Regions from separate parts of the Homo sapiens genome. Here all the other regions are linked to region 5. Evidence: promoter capture Hi-C in 16 types of primary human blood cells and fetal thymus (Javierre and others, 2016). All regions are on one chromosome and are shown on one strand. Each heading gives the region's core, a stretch centred on a gene start or on the middle of the fragment in contact. The rest is flanking DNA. Distances are from core to core; before and after follow the strand shown.

What was found. Contacts are between HindIII fragments. The CHiCAGO score rates a contact against its expected background, and 5 or more counts as called.
Region 1: a fragment that was not itself captured here is called in contact with the fragment with the promoter of WTAP in region 5 in 1 of 17 cell types (neutrophils); the score reaches 5.8 in neutrophils.
Region 2: a fragment that was not itself captured here is called in contact with the fragment with the promoter of WTAP in region 5 in 1 of 17 cell types (neutrophils); the score reaches 6.6 in neutrophils.
Region 3: a contact is called between a fragment that was not itself captured here and the fragment with the promoter of WTAP in region 5, in 1 of 17 cell types (neutrophils). The highest score is 7.0, in neutrophils.
Region 4: a contact is called between a fragment that was not itself captured here and the fragment with the promoter of WTAP in region 5, in 1 of 17 cell types (neutrophils). The highest score is 5.1, in neutrophils.
Region 6: a contact is called between a fragment that was not itself captured here and the fragment with the promoter of WTAP in region 5, in 1 of 17 cell types (fetal thymus). The highest score is 5.2, in fetal thymus.

Annotation. Positions count from the first base shown.
Region 1 is chr6:160,118,659-160,121,398 of GRCh38, forward strand. It overlaps LOC124901452 (a long non-coding RNA gene), which reads right to left. Exons shown (of 2, transcript XR_007059842.1): 1 at 2,184-2,740; 2 at 1-771. Among named protein-coding and RNA genes, the nearest start is that of SLC22A1, 1.8 kb to the right of the region's middle. The HindIII fragment of the contact is 1,308 bases long and covers 759-2,066 here.
Region 2 is chr6:160,047,953-160,050,652 of GRCh38, forward strand. IGF2R (insulin like growth factor 2 receptor) reads left to right here. Exons shown (of 48, transcript NM_000876.4): 18 at 423-591; 19 at 2,521-2,700. Among named protein-coding and RNA genes, the nearest start is that of AIRN, 42 kb to the left of the region's middle. The HindIII fragment of the contact is 3,349 bases long and covers 1-2,700 here.
Region 3 is chr6:160,069,786-160,072,493 of GRCh38, forward strand. IGF2R (insulin like growth factor 2 receptor) reads left to right here. Exons shown (of 48, transcript NM_000876.4): 31 at 83-273; 32 at 2,125-2,251. Among named protein-coding and RNA genes, the nearest start is that of SLC22A1, 51 kb to the right of the region's middle. The HindIII fragment of the contact is 1,570 bases long and covers 473-2,042 here.
Region 4 is chr6:160,102,508-160,105,207 of GRCh38, forward strand. IGF2R (insulin like growth factor 2 receptor) reads left to right here. Exons shown (of 48, transcript NM_000876.4): 46 at 12-164; 47 at 1,239-1,308; 48 at 2,167-2,700. The coding sequence ends at 2,577. Among named protein-coding and RNA genes, the nearest start is that of SLC22A1, 18 kb to the right of the region's middle. The HindIII fragment of the contact is 6,206 bases long and covers 1-2,700 here.
Region 5 is chr6:159,726,221-159,728,920 of GRCh38, forward strand. WTAP (WT1 associated protein) reads left to right here and starts at 1,286. Exons shown (of 8, transcript NM_001270531.2): 1 at 1,286-1,483. It also overlaps a transcript of SOD2 not described here. RefSeq lists enhancers at 497-1,094, 575-664, 1,015-1,144, 1,095-1,692 and a silencer at 1,155-1,704. The HindIII fragment of the contact is 6,285 bases long and covers 1-2,700 here.
Region 6 is chr6:160,009,983-160,012,682 of GRCh38, forward strand. It overlaps IGF2R (insulin like growth factor 2 receptor), which reads left to right. Exons shown (of 48, transcript NM_000876.4): 4 at 705-803. Among named protein-coding and RNA genes, the nearest start is that of AIRN, 3.7 kb to the left of the region's middle. The HindIII fragment of the contact is 1,709 bases long and covers 516-2,224 here.

The DNA.
Region 1 (2,740 bases), core at 163-2,662, 390 kb after region 5:
GCCTCCTGCTGCCATTCATGGCCCCAGGTCTCAACCCCAACCCTGCTCTGAGATCGGAGCAGGTGCTGGGATGGGAGAGGGGCCAGGCAGTGGGAGCAGACTCTTCTGAGCCTGGGATGGGGACTAGTGGGGAGGCCTTCCCAGGCCCCTGAGGTTGCAGGCTGCAGAGATGCCCAGGTCTTGTGCCTGGGAGGGCAGCCACAGCTGCATCCACGGAACTCCCACCCTGCCAACTCAGAAGGGGTGGGGTTCCTGCTTGTCCCTGGCTCCTGCCTGCTCTGTGGAGTGAGAGGCCCAGGTCTGCAGCCACAGGTCAGGTGGTTGCAGCTGCATCCAGGCAGGCAGATCTGGCCTGCTGCTGGCCCCCTCCAAGAGCACAAGGAGGCTTGGATCCACAGTCCCAGGAGGGTGGGGCTTCCATCAGCTCCGTGGAGTGTTCAGCCCCAGCCACGCCTCCCTGCTGCTGCCATCATTTCCCCCTCTGAAGAGGTACACCTAACTGCTGTTAGGGTAGGGACAATGACCACTCTTAACTGCTTCGTGCTGACCAGGGATATTGTTTTGGGAAAACAACAGTCAAGTCTCTCTCAGAGACCTATCTAAGAATATCCAGTACAAGGCAGCCATCATCTGAGGCTCCATTTTCATGACCATTTGGAGTTTAACGGCCCATCCCTTGTTTCTTCTGAGCTGTAGTCAGATATCACTAGTTGGTTCACCTTCACAATTGTCAAAAGCTACAAATAGCTCAAAAGAAAAGCTTCCTTGATTCTGAAAAACAAGATAAAGGATCAACAGTATTCCAAGCAAAAGGTCAAAACAAGATTGCTTCAGTCTTCTATTAGTTCAGCTCACCCAGTCAACTCCTATTCACAATCTCCAAAATTATCAGAAATCTGCATTTGAAGACTATAATCCATCCCTTGAAGAGGATCAAAACATGACAACAATTGTCTGTGAATGTCAAAATGTCCTAGCGTATTCATAGTCAAAAACACAATTGATGAAGAAATCTGGTCACCTCTGTGATTTACAATAACCTAACACAATAACCCTAGCTATGATTGATAACACAAACTCAGGCATCAGAAATCTAGAAATCCCATACAATTTTGAAACACACATTAACATTTTTCACTAAAATATAACCTGAAGATCAAACACCTTATTTTGGTAATCCTATGTAACTAAACTTGTCAAATAACCCTGTTTACCTCTCCCTTTCGATGCTCCAGGTGTCTTCTGTAGCATCCAAAACTCAGGGGTTAGGAAAGAAAATTTTGAAGCTGTAAAGGCTCAAAACACTTAACAGAATTTTTGGTTACTATAAGTCATTCATTTAAATGACTCAAAGCAAAAACCTTCAGTCACTAAGAGGGAAGACCTAATTTTCCAAACAATCTAACTTTTAACCATCGCACTCCTTTTTAAGAAGTCCTTTTAAGTCTCTTATTATCCAACTTTAGCCATGCCAAATGGCCAGTTGAATTCATGGAGGGGCAGAGAATATAGTGATTTTTTTATTGTTCCTGCAACCAGTTTGCACAGAGAGAGAAACCAAAAGTCTGACTGGTAAGAACTTTTACCCTTTCGCCAGCATGTCAGGCTGCTGAGCTCCCTTCCCCTCAGCTATGGAGCCCTATTGACCCTGGAGTCCTGTTGATCTCTTGTCCTTCCCTTCTTGTGTCAGTAGCTTATTCACAAAGAAAACAAAATCTTTCATTGCATGAAAATCTTGTTCAAGTGAAAGCCAAATTTTACCCTTACATTAGTCTATTAATGTCAACCCCAATTAAAAAAAATAAAACCTTACAGAGAAATCCATCCAATCTTAATCAGTTTGATCATGAACTGAGATTGTTATAAATCTTTTATAACCTTTTACAAATTTTTTTTGTTAAACAGCATGTAAGTGCTTCAAGAAAACCTTGTTGTGCTTGTATTCCATTGTTCAACTTATGGAAAACCAAATAATATCCTTTTTAGTGTAGTCAATATGTTTACACACAGGATTCCTTTTACAAGATTAATTTTTTACAAACCTTCCATAACTTGTTTGAACCTTAAGCTTTATCTTATATAATTTAAAACAATCATTTAACCCTCTGAACTAGGCAAAAATTTACATTCCCATGCCTTCTTATATTATTTTACTAATGATACATTTTACTCTCCTTACTCACCTCACGTGTAGATCTGTTTTCAGTAGTCATCACTACATGTTATAATGGTAGCTCTTAGTAATTGTTAATTTTGGTGAAATACCCAGTAAGTTATTTTAGTTACGTACTTAGGTGCAGATGAGGTCTAACTATTTCCAGCATAGCTAGGGCAGGCCCTACCAAACTGCAAAGCAGGAAAGTTGAACAATTTTCAAAAGCCAAAGCAGTTTATGACCTTAAAGCATTTAGTCAACCTAGTTTCTGACTTGCATAATTTAGACCATGTCTATATTTTGAAGACATTTCTATTTTCATTTTACTGATAATTTAAAAGACAGCCTATTTAGCAAAGTCATACTTAAGTGAATTTGAAAATTGCTTAGACTTATTTACTTAATTTATGAACACTCTTTTACTTATAAGCCAATTTGGTAGACACAACATATAACAGTAAGTGTACATACAAGTAAACACATCTAGACATGTATACACACACACAAATGAAGAGGTGGAGCTTAAAACACCCAAATTGGGTGCAGTGTATACTGCTTGGGAGATGGATGCACCAAAATCTCACA
Region 2 (2,700 bases), core at 148-2,647, 320 kb after region 5:
GAGGTTGCAAGTGTTGCTGGTGAGCGTGTGACTGAGCTGATGATGGGGAGTGATGCTGGCTGTGGGGCTGCAGGACCAAGGTGGGGCATTTTCAGCAGAGTGAATTCTAATAACTGTCTGGTCGCCTTTGGGATAGCAACCAGTCTTGGCCACAGCAGAGCCTCGGCCTTTAGCTTCATCATTTAAAACAATGACTGTCAGTGCAGAGGCACGGGGGACAGTTAAGGTCCACTGCATACTGAGTTCAGCGAAGGTGGAGTGTAATCCTGGTGCGTCATGCGCCCAGACAAGCCAACTCCTGGTAGTGTGATTGGTGGAGCATGTTTTATTTGGTAGCTTTACTTCCCCAACTACATAGAAATAAATGAGACTGAAATGTGTAAGCTCTTTAAAAGCATATACATTTTGCTTTGAAATTTTAGTCTGGCAAAATCTGAAGGTGGCCTTGGAGGAAACTGGTATGCCATGGACAACTCAGGGGAACATGTCACGTGGAGGAAATACTACATTAACGTGTGTCGGCCTCTGAATCCAGTGCCGGGCTGCAACCGATATGCATCGGCTTGCCAGATGAAGTATGAAAAAGATCAGGTGAATCTGTTTTCACTGCTTGTCTCCTTTGCCCTCCTAATTCCATGACTTAGTGGGAGGAGGTGGTTATTCTGGGACATCCAGATCAAAGGCAGCACAGCTGCTCGAGAGAAACCCTCTGAGTAGGAGTGGGGCCTCCATGTGAACTCATCTGCCTCCTGTAGGAGCAGAAGTGTGTCACACAGGAATCATTGTTCACATGGAGAATGCTGTGTTGCAGACTTTTGATCACACAAAGGGCAGAGGAAGCACCGAATGGTTATGTCTAGCCTGAATTCAAAAGTGTCTTTAGGTGCTTTCAGCAGACACCTGTGAAAAAGAGAGTTTTGCTTCCAAAAGCTCTTGTTTCTGGATTGATTAGGGGGAAAAACCGATTTGGGAGAGTTGCTGTGGATGAACCAGATTCAAGCACACGCTCTCATTCGCTGCAGTTCGTCCCTGGGTTGAATGCAGTCACCGCCAGAACATTTACCCGTCTCCTGTGGTCGTTGTACGTGGTGAATCTTAAAAGAGATGTCTCTGGACATCTGTATTGGCTTCTGTAAAAATAGCATGTTGGGAATGTACTTTTCTTGGTGTATGCTAATGGCAGCTTGGAGGTTTTTGAAAGGAAGGTGGCAAGTGTGCTCTGGTGGTTAGGAATCGAGTTCCTGGTTGTGTTTACCTCTGCACATGTGTGTTCTTTACTGGAGCAATGAGTTCAGTGTATAGTCAGTCCTCTTTATTCACAGATTCTGCATCTGTGAACTTGCCTACTTGAGAACACGTGTAACTCCAAAATCACCACGCGGAACACTTTCTCAGTCATTGTTGGAACGAGTGTAGTGGCCCAATGTGCATAGTACCCGACAAGCCTGTTCCTGGTTGAAGTTGAACAGGGGGACACTCTGGCCTCTTGTTTCTGCCTCACCCTGAGATGAGCAGGGGATGGAGAGGGCGAGGCAGTGCAGTGCAAAAGCTCCAGCCCTGGGGCCAGTTGGACGGGGTCTGAATTCCAACTCTGGCATCTCAACTCAGAGATGCTCCAGAGCTGGAACTTCCGCGCTGCACTGCCTGGTAAGGTCTCCCTAAGAGAAGTTTCTTGCCTAGAATTCACACTAAAGCCTTTTCAAACATGACTTACTCCCTTGTGTTCGGAAAGTTTAGCGGGGCAGCCTTAGGTGAGCCACTTAACACTCCTTAACCTCGTTTTTCCTTCTGTAAAATAAAGAGAGTAGAATCTGTCAGCATGAGTTGTCTTGGGATTTCAGATTTATAATCTGTGTGTAATAGGTTTGTTTGCCTGATGTGCGGCCAGTCAGTACGCTGAGACATTGGGGATTACAGCCGAGAAAGAGTTTAATTGTAGGGCAGGCGAATGAGGAGATGAGAAGAAACCTCAAATTCACCTCCCTAAGGAATTTGGGTTGAGGGACTTAAGGGATTTGGAGCGGGCCAAGGTGTGGGGATTGTTTATTGGTAGAAGAGTGCAGGGTGAAGTCATCGGATGGGGAGATGAAGAAACTGCATTTGGTTCCCTGTAGGGAGGTCTTCATAGTGGTTAGTGTCAGCCGTTCCACCGGAATTCAGGATCTGAAGAACATCTTACACGATTATTGAACGAAAGCCTTATGATTCCAATGCCAGTGATTCTTTCTGTAGCAATAATGGGGATGTGACTAGTATCTAGTGCTATGTGACTTTCAGTTACAGGCCAGCATGCAGCCTGATTGGTGCTCAATTGCATGCCTGGAACGCAGCATGCAGTTGTTGTTAACTCTTTGAGGATGGTTTCCTATTCCATATGTAATAAGGGGATTTCCCCAGGAGCAGTGGTTCTGTATTCAATAATTCATTGTTTGCTGCAGCTTTATAGAATGTAACCACCACCAATAACGAATCGACTGTATCTTCAGGGGGAAAAGCCTAACAAGACTGGTTTTCTTGCAGGGCTCCTTCACTGAAGTGGTTTCCATCAGTAACTTGGGAATGGCAAAGACCGGCCCGGTGGTTGAGGACAGCGGCAGCCTCCTTCTGGAATACGTGAATGGGTCGGCCTGCACCACCAGCGATGGCAGACAGACCACATATACCACGAGGATCCATCTCGTCTGCTCCAGGGGCAGGCTG
Region 3 (2,708 bases), core at 8-2,507, 340 kb after region 5:
TGTGACATTTATTGCCTGATGAAGTTCTGTTCTAGCCTGGGGAGTCACTAAAGGCAACTCTTTCTTGTGTCTGGTGCTGCAGAGCCGTGCCCTCCAGAAGCAGCCGCGTGTCTGCTGGGTGGCTCCAAGCCCGTGAACCTCGGCAGGGTAAGGGACGGACCTCAGTGGAGAGATGGCATAATTGTCCTGAAATACGTTGATGGCGACTTATGTCCAGATGGGATTCGGAAAAAGTCAACCACCATCCGATTCACCTGCAGCGAGAGCCAAGTGGTAAGGGACTGTTCCTGCACCTTCTGCTGTTGCAGCTTTGGGAATTGAGCCCATGTGCAGGGCGGTGAGCCGCACGTCCTCATCTGCCTTGGGATGCGAGTTCTAGAGCCTGGGATGATGCGCCCTTACCAGAGGTTGGGGGAACAGCGTCGCCGCGGCCTGCAATCTGGGGAACCCTCGTGCTGTCTGGCTCCTTAGAAGCTTGCCTGGCAGTTCCCGACTCAGAATTGGTTCTCTTCAGAGTTTGACTCAGACCCCTAAAGGCTGTGGAGGAGATTGTTGTTTGACTACATGCCCTTTTGTCTTCACGGCGGCAGCTTGGGAAGCACGAGAAGGTTGGCTGGGCCCGGGTCACAGGTAGCGCTGCCACTTCCCAGCCACATAACTTGGTTAATTACTCAGGTAGTCTGCCCTGCTCAGCCGTTCATAACATGAGGCATACTTGTCCTGCCCATTGCAGGGTTTCGAGAGAAGAGGTAGGAAGTGCCAGGTGTCATTTCTGACACACGGGAGATGCACAGTCAGTGAGCATGAGTGCCTGTGATCAGTTCTTCCCTTACTTGTTTGGCATGCACGTAAGCAGGTGTCGACTGCATACAGGTTTTTCTGTGTGTGAGATTGTGGTGAGCCCCAGTGCTAGCGTGCATGACAAGCTCGGTGGCTGAGTTGGGCATTAACTCGGGCAAGACCAGCTCGCTGGGTGTCAGGGTGGCTCGCCCCATGCTCTCCAGCGGTGGGCAGCAGTGGTAGGGGAGCTTGGGATGGGGGGCTCCAGGAGCTTCAGGCCTGCCCTCTTGCCTGGAGCGGCAGGGAAGTTTCCTCTTGGGAAGATTGTGCAGAGGCTTAGTCCAGACTCATGAGCTGCTGGGGCCTCTGAGCATTCTCCTCTGTGACCTGAGAGGCTCATGGCCGAGGACAAAAGGGCTGCCCCACATGTGGGGGGCAAAGGTGAGAGGGTGTGTGGGGCCCCTGTGCCCAGGGCCCAGAAGGCTGGGAGGGAAGGGTGAAGGGGTGTGTGGGGTTCCCCATGTCCAGAGCCCAGGAGGCTGGGAGGGAAGGATGAGGGTGGTGTGTGGGGGCCTCTGTGCCCCAGACCCAGGAGGCTGGGAGGGAAAGGTGAAGGGTGTGTGGAGGCCCTGTGCCCCAGACCCAGGAGGCTGGGAGGGAAGGGTGGGGGTGTGTCGAGGCCCCTGTGCCCAGGGCCCAGGAGGCTGGGAGGGAAGGGTGGGGGTGTGTCGAGGCCCCTGTGCCCAGGGCCTGGGAGGCTGGACTGCAGCGTGGCTTATCAGGGTGCCCAGCAGGAATCATGGGGTTTACCTGGGAAGGAAGGTGCTGCTGAACTCATCATGCTAACTCTGCAGTGGACATGAAGCGTTTTGAGATGAGCAGAGTAAGCCTTGGCTGGTGCCAGTGGGAGGATGCGTGGAATGGGCTAGTTCTCTTGGTATATCTTTTTGTTTTGACTGTGATAATGGATTTTACCTCATTTGGTTTTTAGAATTTTATCAATGATTTACACATTTGTGTCTCCCTGTAGCCCTTCCAGCATCCTTTGCACGCCTGTCCCCAACCCCTGTCCTGTTCCTCAGCCTGAGGGAGCTTCCTGGTCCCCTAAGTGTGTTGCTGCCTGTGGGTGTTTCACTTACCTGCAGGGGAAGCCCATGGTGGCAGCTCAGGACACATTCTGACCCTTTGCTTTTCCTAATCTGCGCCTCATCCCACAGGCACATGGAGACAGAAATGTCACATGCTGTGGAGTTTTTCAGAGAAGCTTCCACTTGTAAGTTGAAATCATGATAGACATGGAGTTTTTGCGTGATCCCTTCAGGACCTGTCTGTGCTTTGTTGTAGAACTCCAGGCCCATGTTCATCAGCGCCGTGGAGGACTGTGAGTACACCTTTGCCTGGCCCACAGCCACAGCCTGTCCCATGAAGAGCAACGAGCATGATGACTGCCAGGTCACCAACCCAAGCACAGGTGAGAGGTGGTGCCAGTCGTTAACCCCAGCGCAGGTGAGAGACGGTGCCCCCACCAAACCCAGCTCATCAGGGGAGAGACCCAAAGAGAAGCTATGGGCAGCAGGCGCCCTGGGCAGAGGTGTCATGGTGTGTGGGTGTGTTTGGCCTTTCTCTGGATGGGCTGCTGTGTGTTCTCCTGGCTCTCCTTCAGTGGAGGAGAGAATGCTCCCACAGAGAATCCATCCCTCCTGTCACTCTCCTGGTGTGAGAGGTGCTCCTGACTGGGGTTACTGACAGTGTCAGTCCAGCAGCTCTAGGCTCTCCAGGGCAGGTTAGAGCTAGCCCCTGGCTGCCTTTCAGCATCAGTGTAGTGGATTGCCAGGAGTCTCTCACCTGCCCTTGTGCTGGGCACCCAGAAAGGCACAGGCACAGTCCATTGGCAGCAAGAGGTGTGCTGGGCAGGCTCTCCCCATGCC
Region 4 (2,700 bases), core at 2-2,501, 380 kb after region 5:
CGTCCTTGCAGGGTGGGCTTTGACAGCGAGAATCCCGGGGACGACGGGCAGATGCACAAGGGGCTGTCAGAACGGAGCCAGGCAGTCGGCGCGGTGCTCAGCCTGCTGCTGGTGGCGCTCACCTGCTGCCTGCTGGCCCTGTTGCTCTACAAGAAGGAGAGGAGGTAAGCGGGTGGCAGGGCGAGGTGGGGCGGGTGGATGCATGCCTCCCATAGCTAATCTTGGGGTCAGTTTTGTGGGGTTTTATTTATTTGTTTTTAAGCCCTACAGCAGCGAAGGCTCGAGGTTCTTAGTCCAAAACTCTCTGGAAGCAGTCCCCAGCGTTGTGGTTTTTAAATGCCTGCATTTCTGTCTGACCAAGGCCGAGGCCCTCGCACATCACCCGTGCCTGCGGCTTCTAGGACCGTGGTCCTTTGTGTCCAAAGATGAGTAGAACATTAAACGGCACCTTTCATGGGTGCCTTTTCCCACTGAGCAGCTGACCCCTCTGCCCTCCTCACATCATAAATGCAGGAGTTTATTAAGCGCCTGCTATGTACCAGGTATGATGCCATCCTTTTGCGCCACTTTGCTGGGTGAAAGGACTCTCCATGTGACGGTCAAGCAGATTTTCACGTCAGGCGTCAGTGTTAGTGGCTCTGACCTGGGGGCAGGAGCTGGCCAGCTCAGGCGTTCCCTGCTGCCACTGTCATTTGCCAGCTGAGCCACAGGCCAATGAGAGAGGTGGTCAGAAAGTACCAACCATGGAGGTTGCAGTGAGCCAAGATCTCACCACTGCACTCTAGCCTGGGCAACACAGTGAGACTCTGTCCAAAAAAAAAAAAAAAGTACCGATTGTGGCCCTCTACACCCAAAATGCAGAATGGGGCAGAAGAAGGTCTGGGCCGGGAAGGGCATGTGATGTCTGTCTCTGCGAGCCACCATTGGGCAGGCTTAGTGGCGACGGACTGGTGTGGTCCTGTTAGTCATGTGAAAAAGTCCTTGCCCTAATGTTAAGTTGCTCTAGAGGGCCCTCTGCTGTTGGATTCCAAAGCCCATCTTCTTTCCACTCAATCACAACAAATACATTAGGGTATATATAACCTGTCACGGCTACTCATTTGTCATTCAGAATGTGGGAGAAATGCAGCCACCACCAGCCCCCTGGTGGTGCAGATGGGGGTGGGGCTGGCGGGGGTGGGGCTCCTGCCCATGCCCTCTCTACACTGGAGTAATTATTGTCTCCTTTTTTTTTATAGGGAAACAGTGATAAGTAAGCTGACCACTTGCTGTAGGAGAAGTTCCAACGTGTCCTACAAATACTCAAAGGTAATTTTCTGTGGCGAGTCTCTTGAAGGCCTGCCTCCCCGGCCCCCTGTGCTGCGCTGTCCATGTCGTTCTCATCAGGGGTGCCAAGGAAAGCAGTCACAGGCTGACTGGAATCCAGAAAGGAAAGCAACACCCGTTGCCTCAGCCACTTACGCCAGCACATTTTTTTGTTATTTTTTTCCCTCAAGTTTCTCTCGTGGTTACAACTGATTTCCTTGAAGTATTTAATAATTAGGTTGTTTCCACTGTTTTTGGCTGTTCTTTAAAAAAAAAACAAAACACACACACACACAGTAGTGAAGATAGTTGTGCATGTAGCATTTGGATGATTTCTTTCAGGTAAATTTGCAGAAAAGAGGCATTATCTGGATCAAAGGACATAATGTTTGTGGTCTCGATGGGTAATGATGAATTGCTCTCTAAAACTAGGCTTTTGACTGGAGTCCCTCCTTTGACATTCCTCCCCTGCCATGCAGTGGGCACCTTTCAGTCTATGAGTAGCCCGGAAGAGCCCCTTCTCCCCCAGCTGCGCTGGGGGATCACTGGTCTGCTTTTCGGTCCAGGCCATCCCGAACGCCTTCTGCTTGGTCCCACCCTTGGCTGTGAGACTCCTGCCAAATGACCCCACTGCCACCCTCCCAAACCCTCCTGCCTTGGTGCAGTCTCATTAGGAACAGGAAGGTGTTGCCAGCCCTCGTCTTCCTTTCCCTGGGAACTGGAGATGCAGTGACTGTGAGGACAGTGGGCCAGTTCTTCCCCAGCTCGTGCCAGCAGAGAGCATCCCTGATGTGGTGGATGGTGGAGCAGAATGGGGTCTCTTAGGGGGCTCACGTGGTCTCTGCTGTTGATCCCTGGCAGGTGAATAAGGAAGAAGAGACAGATGAGAATGAAACAGAGTGGCTGATGGAAGAGATCCAGCTGCCTCCTCCACGGCAGGGAAAGGAAGGGCAGGAGAACGGCCATATTACCACCAAGTCAGTGAAAGCCCTCAGCTCCCTGCATGGGGATGACCAGGACAGTGAGGATGAGGTTCTGACCATCCCAGAGGTGAAAGTTCACTCGGGCAGGGGAGCTGGGGCAGAGAGCTCCCACCCAGTGAGAAACGCACAGAGCAATGCCCTTCAGGAGCGTGAGGACGATAGGGTGGGGCTGGTCAGGGGTGAGAAGGCGAGGAAAGGGAAGTCCAGCTCTGCACAGCAGAAGACAGTGAGCTCCACCAAGCTGGTGTCCTTCCATGACGACAGCGACGAGGACCTCTTACACATCTGACTCCGCAGTGCCTGCAGGGGAGCACGGAGCCGCGGGACAGCCAAGCACCTCCAACCAAATAAGACTTCCACTCGATGATGCTTCTATAATTTTGCCTTTAACAGAAACTTTCAAAAGGGAAGA
Region 5 (2,700 bases), core at 36-2,535:
AGCGACTTTCTATGTTTAAAGACCATTACGGTATTTTTTCTGAGAATCATCTGTTCATGTCCTTCCCCATTTTCTCCTTTGGCTTTTGCACTTTTTGTTTTCAATTTTTGAGAGCTCTTGTGATACGAGTTGCAAAGATTTTCTCCAGACCGATCTGATTCACTGGAAATATACTACGACCATCTGGAATGTACTTTAATCTTATCCTAATAAATCACCTTACTACAAGACACTCCTTTGGGGATGAACAGGTTTGATAAAGCCGGCTAAGGACAGACCAATCAAAAGAATTACGTGCTCTTCTAGTAAGTGTTTAGAGACTGTTTCACGTTCTCCAGGTAACACCGCCATTACTCGGCGGTCCAGATGGCAGTCTTACTTCAGGGAGTCTACTCCACTTGCAGGACCTCTTTGATTGAGTTCACTAAACCTCACAGGGCCGCCTTCCCCGTGTTCCAGTTAGCAAGGGGCCCTCAACGCCGCGGACACAGCGCAACCTCCGACGCCAGAGAACAATAGCTCCTCGATGCGTCTCCAGAGATGTCAAGGAGGAACGAACCCAGCGGCCAGGAGACTGCGCCTCACGACTGATGAGAGGGAAGGCATCGGTTTCTAAGTTCTCAAAACTTACAGGTGAGCTTCTGCTAAGAGTAAACGCCCGCGGCTCGCCGCCCACGGCCTCTCTCTTGAGGTGGCACCTGGTCCTCCGACACGCGGAAGCATCACGGATGAGCGTCACGAACACAGAGCGGCCAATCACGCGCCGCCTTCGCCCAGATCCCTCCGCACGAGGCAGCCCCGCAGCCGCAGGTGGCCCCGGCGAGTACTTCCACCTTCCCTTCCCGTGATGCCCTGGGGCTGACCTCCGACCTCGCTGGCCCGCCCCTCCCCTCGGCCGCTTCCCTTACTGAGCTTGCTGAGCTCCGGGGCCCGCGGAGCTCGCGCCAGGCTCCTGGGAAAGGACGGGGAGTGTTACCGGGGAGCAGCTGCTCCATTGTGCCTCGAGGCCCCGATCGGGCTAGGCCGACGGCCTCCCTCCCTTCACCTTTCCTCTCCTGGCGGGGTTCGGCGGCGGGCGAGTGACTGCGGCCACGCCTGAAAGGCGACTCTCCTGTGAGTGGGCCAGAAGGCGAACATGGCGGAGCGGGGAGGCTGGCGGGAGGCGGGAGGCGGGAGGCGGGAGGCAGTGGCGCTGGCCTGCGGCGCGTTCGGACCGGCTGTGGGGCGGGGCAGGGCGGAGCGGAGCCGTGCGGCGGGGCGGGGCCGGGCGGCGGGGCCTGGTTTCCTCCCTCAGCGCCATTTTGTGGCAGCGAGACCCACAAATAAAGGGGAGCGCAGGGGTTGCGGCGGGACTAGGAGCGCGGCGGGGCCGGCGGCAGAGCTGTCCGGCTGCGCGGTGGCCCGGGGGGCCCGGGCGGCAGGGCAAGCAGCGCGGCCTCGGCCTATGCGACCGGTGGCGCCGGCGCGGCTTCTGCCTGGAGAGGTAGGCGCGGGCCGGCTGGCGGGAGCGGACGCGGGGGACCTCCGGGGCCTGAGGGCTGATGCGCAGCCGCCCCCGGCGGGTAAGGGGCGGGCAGGGCCCGAAAGGCCACACGGGCCTGGTGCGGCACCGGTCTCTCGTGAGCCGCTCTACCTTCCCGCCTGCGGGGAACACTTCCGCCGCTTCGAGGCCATTTTATCTCTGTCCTCCGTCCCCAAGGCCCGGGTTGAGAGGGGTGCTCTGGCGGCCGGAGAGACCGGCCACTCACGGAGGCCGGAGGATGCCCTCCCCGGGCTGAGCGGCGGCGCTCGTTTTTTCCTCGCCTCGGGGTCGCCCCCTTCACCTCCCTTGGGCCTCTCCTGAGGACCTGGCGGCACTAACGAGTTCAGCAAGGAAAAAAAGAAACATTCGTTCCCTACATTTCATGTCACGCAGTAGGATGTTACTACGTTCTCTTGTAGACTTCCATTTTTAAATGAGTATAAGCATTCTGAGGAAAGAAACTGAATTATTGCAGATTTTTGTGAAATCCAAGTCTTACCTTGGATCCCTGTGAGACAGTTACTAGATTTTTTTTTCACCGTTTTTCATAAGTCTGTGTACACGTAATGGAAAAGCCCGAGTTCTTGTTTTGATAAGAAAGTCACTTGGTTGTTTGATCCCAAAGGATTAGCTTAACATTATCAAGGACTAGCATAACTGTGATTATGTAAAAAAAACAAAACAAAACAAAAAAACTATTATTTAGTCTGGTAGGGAAATACTTCTATGAGTATGTTACAATTGGAAGTTGTATTTGTGCCTATTTTATCTAGTTTTAGTTAATTCCATTGCTTCGGAAGATAAGTGGACGTCATAGATCCATCGCAAGTTCTCGTTTTTTGGATTTTAAAATTTTGACCATTAAGTTTTCTACGATAGATAAACATGTTGTGGACATTTAAAACCGTAATTTAAAACTATGAGCGAAAAATCTTTTCAAGATGGATACATTTTAATTCATTCAAGTAGCATCTGATTAGCCAAGTCGGGGAAAGATTGCAGTCCGCAAAGCTGGCTTGTGATAAGGTTGAGGTTACATTTTAAGGGTTTGGGTAGGTGTGTTTCTTACAGTGCTTTTATATGTTAAGGTATCTTAAGCAGACACATGGTTTAAAAGTTCAGTATTTTTAGTACTTTTTCATTGGCAGAATTTGGACAAGCTACCAGAATTGCTAACT
Region 6 (2,700 bases), core at 120-2,619, 280 kb after region 5:
ACCCAAAAAAGAATCTGTTCGCAGCAGCATTAAATGAGATTTATATTACAGAATAAAATATATAGCTCCTGTTTTAACTTCAGCTAATTTCCTTTATGAATTCTGTGTTCACCATACCAGAAATAGAACTGTGAAGGATAACTCCCTAGACTTGCACGTGGGAGTGAAGAGGCCAGTTCCTGCTGTGCTTGTGTCATCCTGCGATGCTGGGGTTGACCTGTTTGTAGTCCACTCTGGTTGCGGTTAACAGGAGGGGCTGCCTTGGAGGGTTGGCGTCTGGTGGGTGTACTAACTTGGTCAGATGCAGATGGGCTCCTCATGGGAGCCTTTTCACGGGAAGCATGAGGTCACGTTTTCTGGCTTTCGTTTGCTGGCATTTGCTTAAGAGAACATTTGGAGTTTGAGAGGAGAATGACTGAGGATTTCTTCCCATGAACTCACTCAATGTACTTGCACAGCTGGGGCGGTAGAATTCCTTTGGATTAGTTACACAAAATCCCAACATGATTTTATGAAGCTTTGGTCTCAGAATTTGCAGATTTGGGAACCTCTTGATGACCCCGTTTAACTAAAGCGGTTGCATCCCCTGCCCTTCTTGCTGCTGCTTTCTTTATTTTAGTAGCCTTTACTGCATTCTCATTTTAAAGAAGAATCTTTACAATGTGTGGTATGGTAACATTATAATTACTATTTTTTTTTAATAGGGAACTCCTGAATTTGTAACTGCAACAGAATGTGTGCACTACTTTGAGTGGAGGACCACTGCAGCCTGCAAGAAAGACATATTTAAAGCAAATAAGGAGGTAACATGGGAACTTCAAATTACATGCTTATGAAGTATACTCTGGGGAACTTTATCTTTCAAATACTGATTCTAACCTTTCCGGGTGAAAATCTTTTTTAGCTTCCAAATTGCATTTGAGCAGAGATACCATGTGATTTAATTTTTAAAACTTTTCTGAGTGGTTCTTATTTTTAGGACAGGGCATTTAAAATATCACAGGATGTGATTTTTGGTCCAGATTGGAAATAGAATGGCTCATCCATATAGGGCAAGTTAGTTCTTGGTTTCTGGTGCTGTGCAACTCAGTAAACTAAGTGACGTGTTTGGGCTTGGGCTTAGAGTATTCACTCTACCTGCAGGAGCCATCTGTTTCTGACGCTGCCTGCTTCATCTTCCTTTGCACCTGGCTTTCCACCTGTGTTGTACCCCGCTTTTGATAAGTCTCCTTTACCTGTTTGCATTGTTAAATCTCTCTGTCCCTCTCCTCAGCCTTGGGATGACTTCTGGCTGCAATGTGAGTCCAGGTCAGGTATCCCTTAAATTCTTTTCCAGCTCACCTCAGAGACTAGATTACTAGGTTACTGTTACTATTACGTCCACCCCTTATTATTTGAACCCAGCATTCCTTGGTCAAGACATTCTTCTTGGGTGCATGTATGTATATATATCTATATACATACACACTGACCTATATGTATTATGTGCAACATGATATTTTGAAATATGTATACATTGAGGAATGGCTACATTGAGCTAATTACATATGTGTTACCTCACATATTTCGTTTTTTTTTTTTTTTTTGTGAGGACTCTTAAAATCTACTCTCTTAGTGATACGCAAGAATAAATTACATTGTTATTAACTGTGGTTGTGGTGGTGTTTAATGGATCTCTTGGGCAGGTCATTCTTGTTGACTAATGGAATGTCCCCTTCCCCAGCCTGGATTCCCTCATGTTGCACTGCTACTTGATTCTCCCTGGTCCTGGGGAAGAGCAGACTGTGTTCCTTCTGCCGCTTCTCCATGCCCACCACCCCAGATCCTAAAGGGAATTTCCTGTTCTCACCTTGATAACAATCTTAATTAATTGATTATCTCACTTTTCTCTCCTACTTTCTGTTTTTAAGAACTTTCAAAGGTTGTAAGGATTCAGGAACTAATGAATGGTCATAATCAGTAATTTTTACTAGTGGCCTAATACCATGCAGTTTAATAAGACAAAAAGAAATGTTTATTTAAAAACATTAATTCAGATTAAATTATGAACAATAAATCACTGATATTTTCAGATATGGTCATCTATGAAGGGAAAGACAGTGTCATATGGAAGTGGAAGTGGTAAAATACTGCCCAGGAAAGCCATAAGGAGCATTCAATGAAAAAAAAAAAGTTTAAAGTGGAAAGAATTAAGGCTGATATTTAGGAGACAGTGTCAAATGTAAGCTTCATTTAAAAACTTAGGTGAAGCTGTTAGATGACATACTGTTAGCGGTGGGAAAAGCATCTCAAAGCAGACATCTGTTTGGGGTTTGGGGGTGAGGGTGGGAGCACAGTGTGTTCATTCTCGCAGTGCTATAAAGAAACACCTGAGACTGGGTAATTTATAAAGAAAAGAGGTATAATTAGCTCACAGTTCCGCAGGTTGTAAAGGAAGAATGGCAGCATCTGCATCTGGAGAAGCCTCAGGAAACTTACAGTCATGGCAGAAGGCAACAGAGTATCGAGCACCTCACGTGGCCAGAGCCTGAGGAAGAGAGTGGGAGGGGGAGGTGCCGCCCACTTTGAAATGACCAGATCTCACAAGAACTCACTCACTATCATGATAATAGCAAGAAGGGGGTGATGGAATCTGCCCTCATGATCCAGTCACCTCCCCAGGCCCCGCCTCCAATGTTGAGGATTACAATTTGACACAAG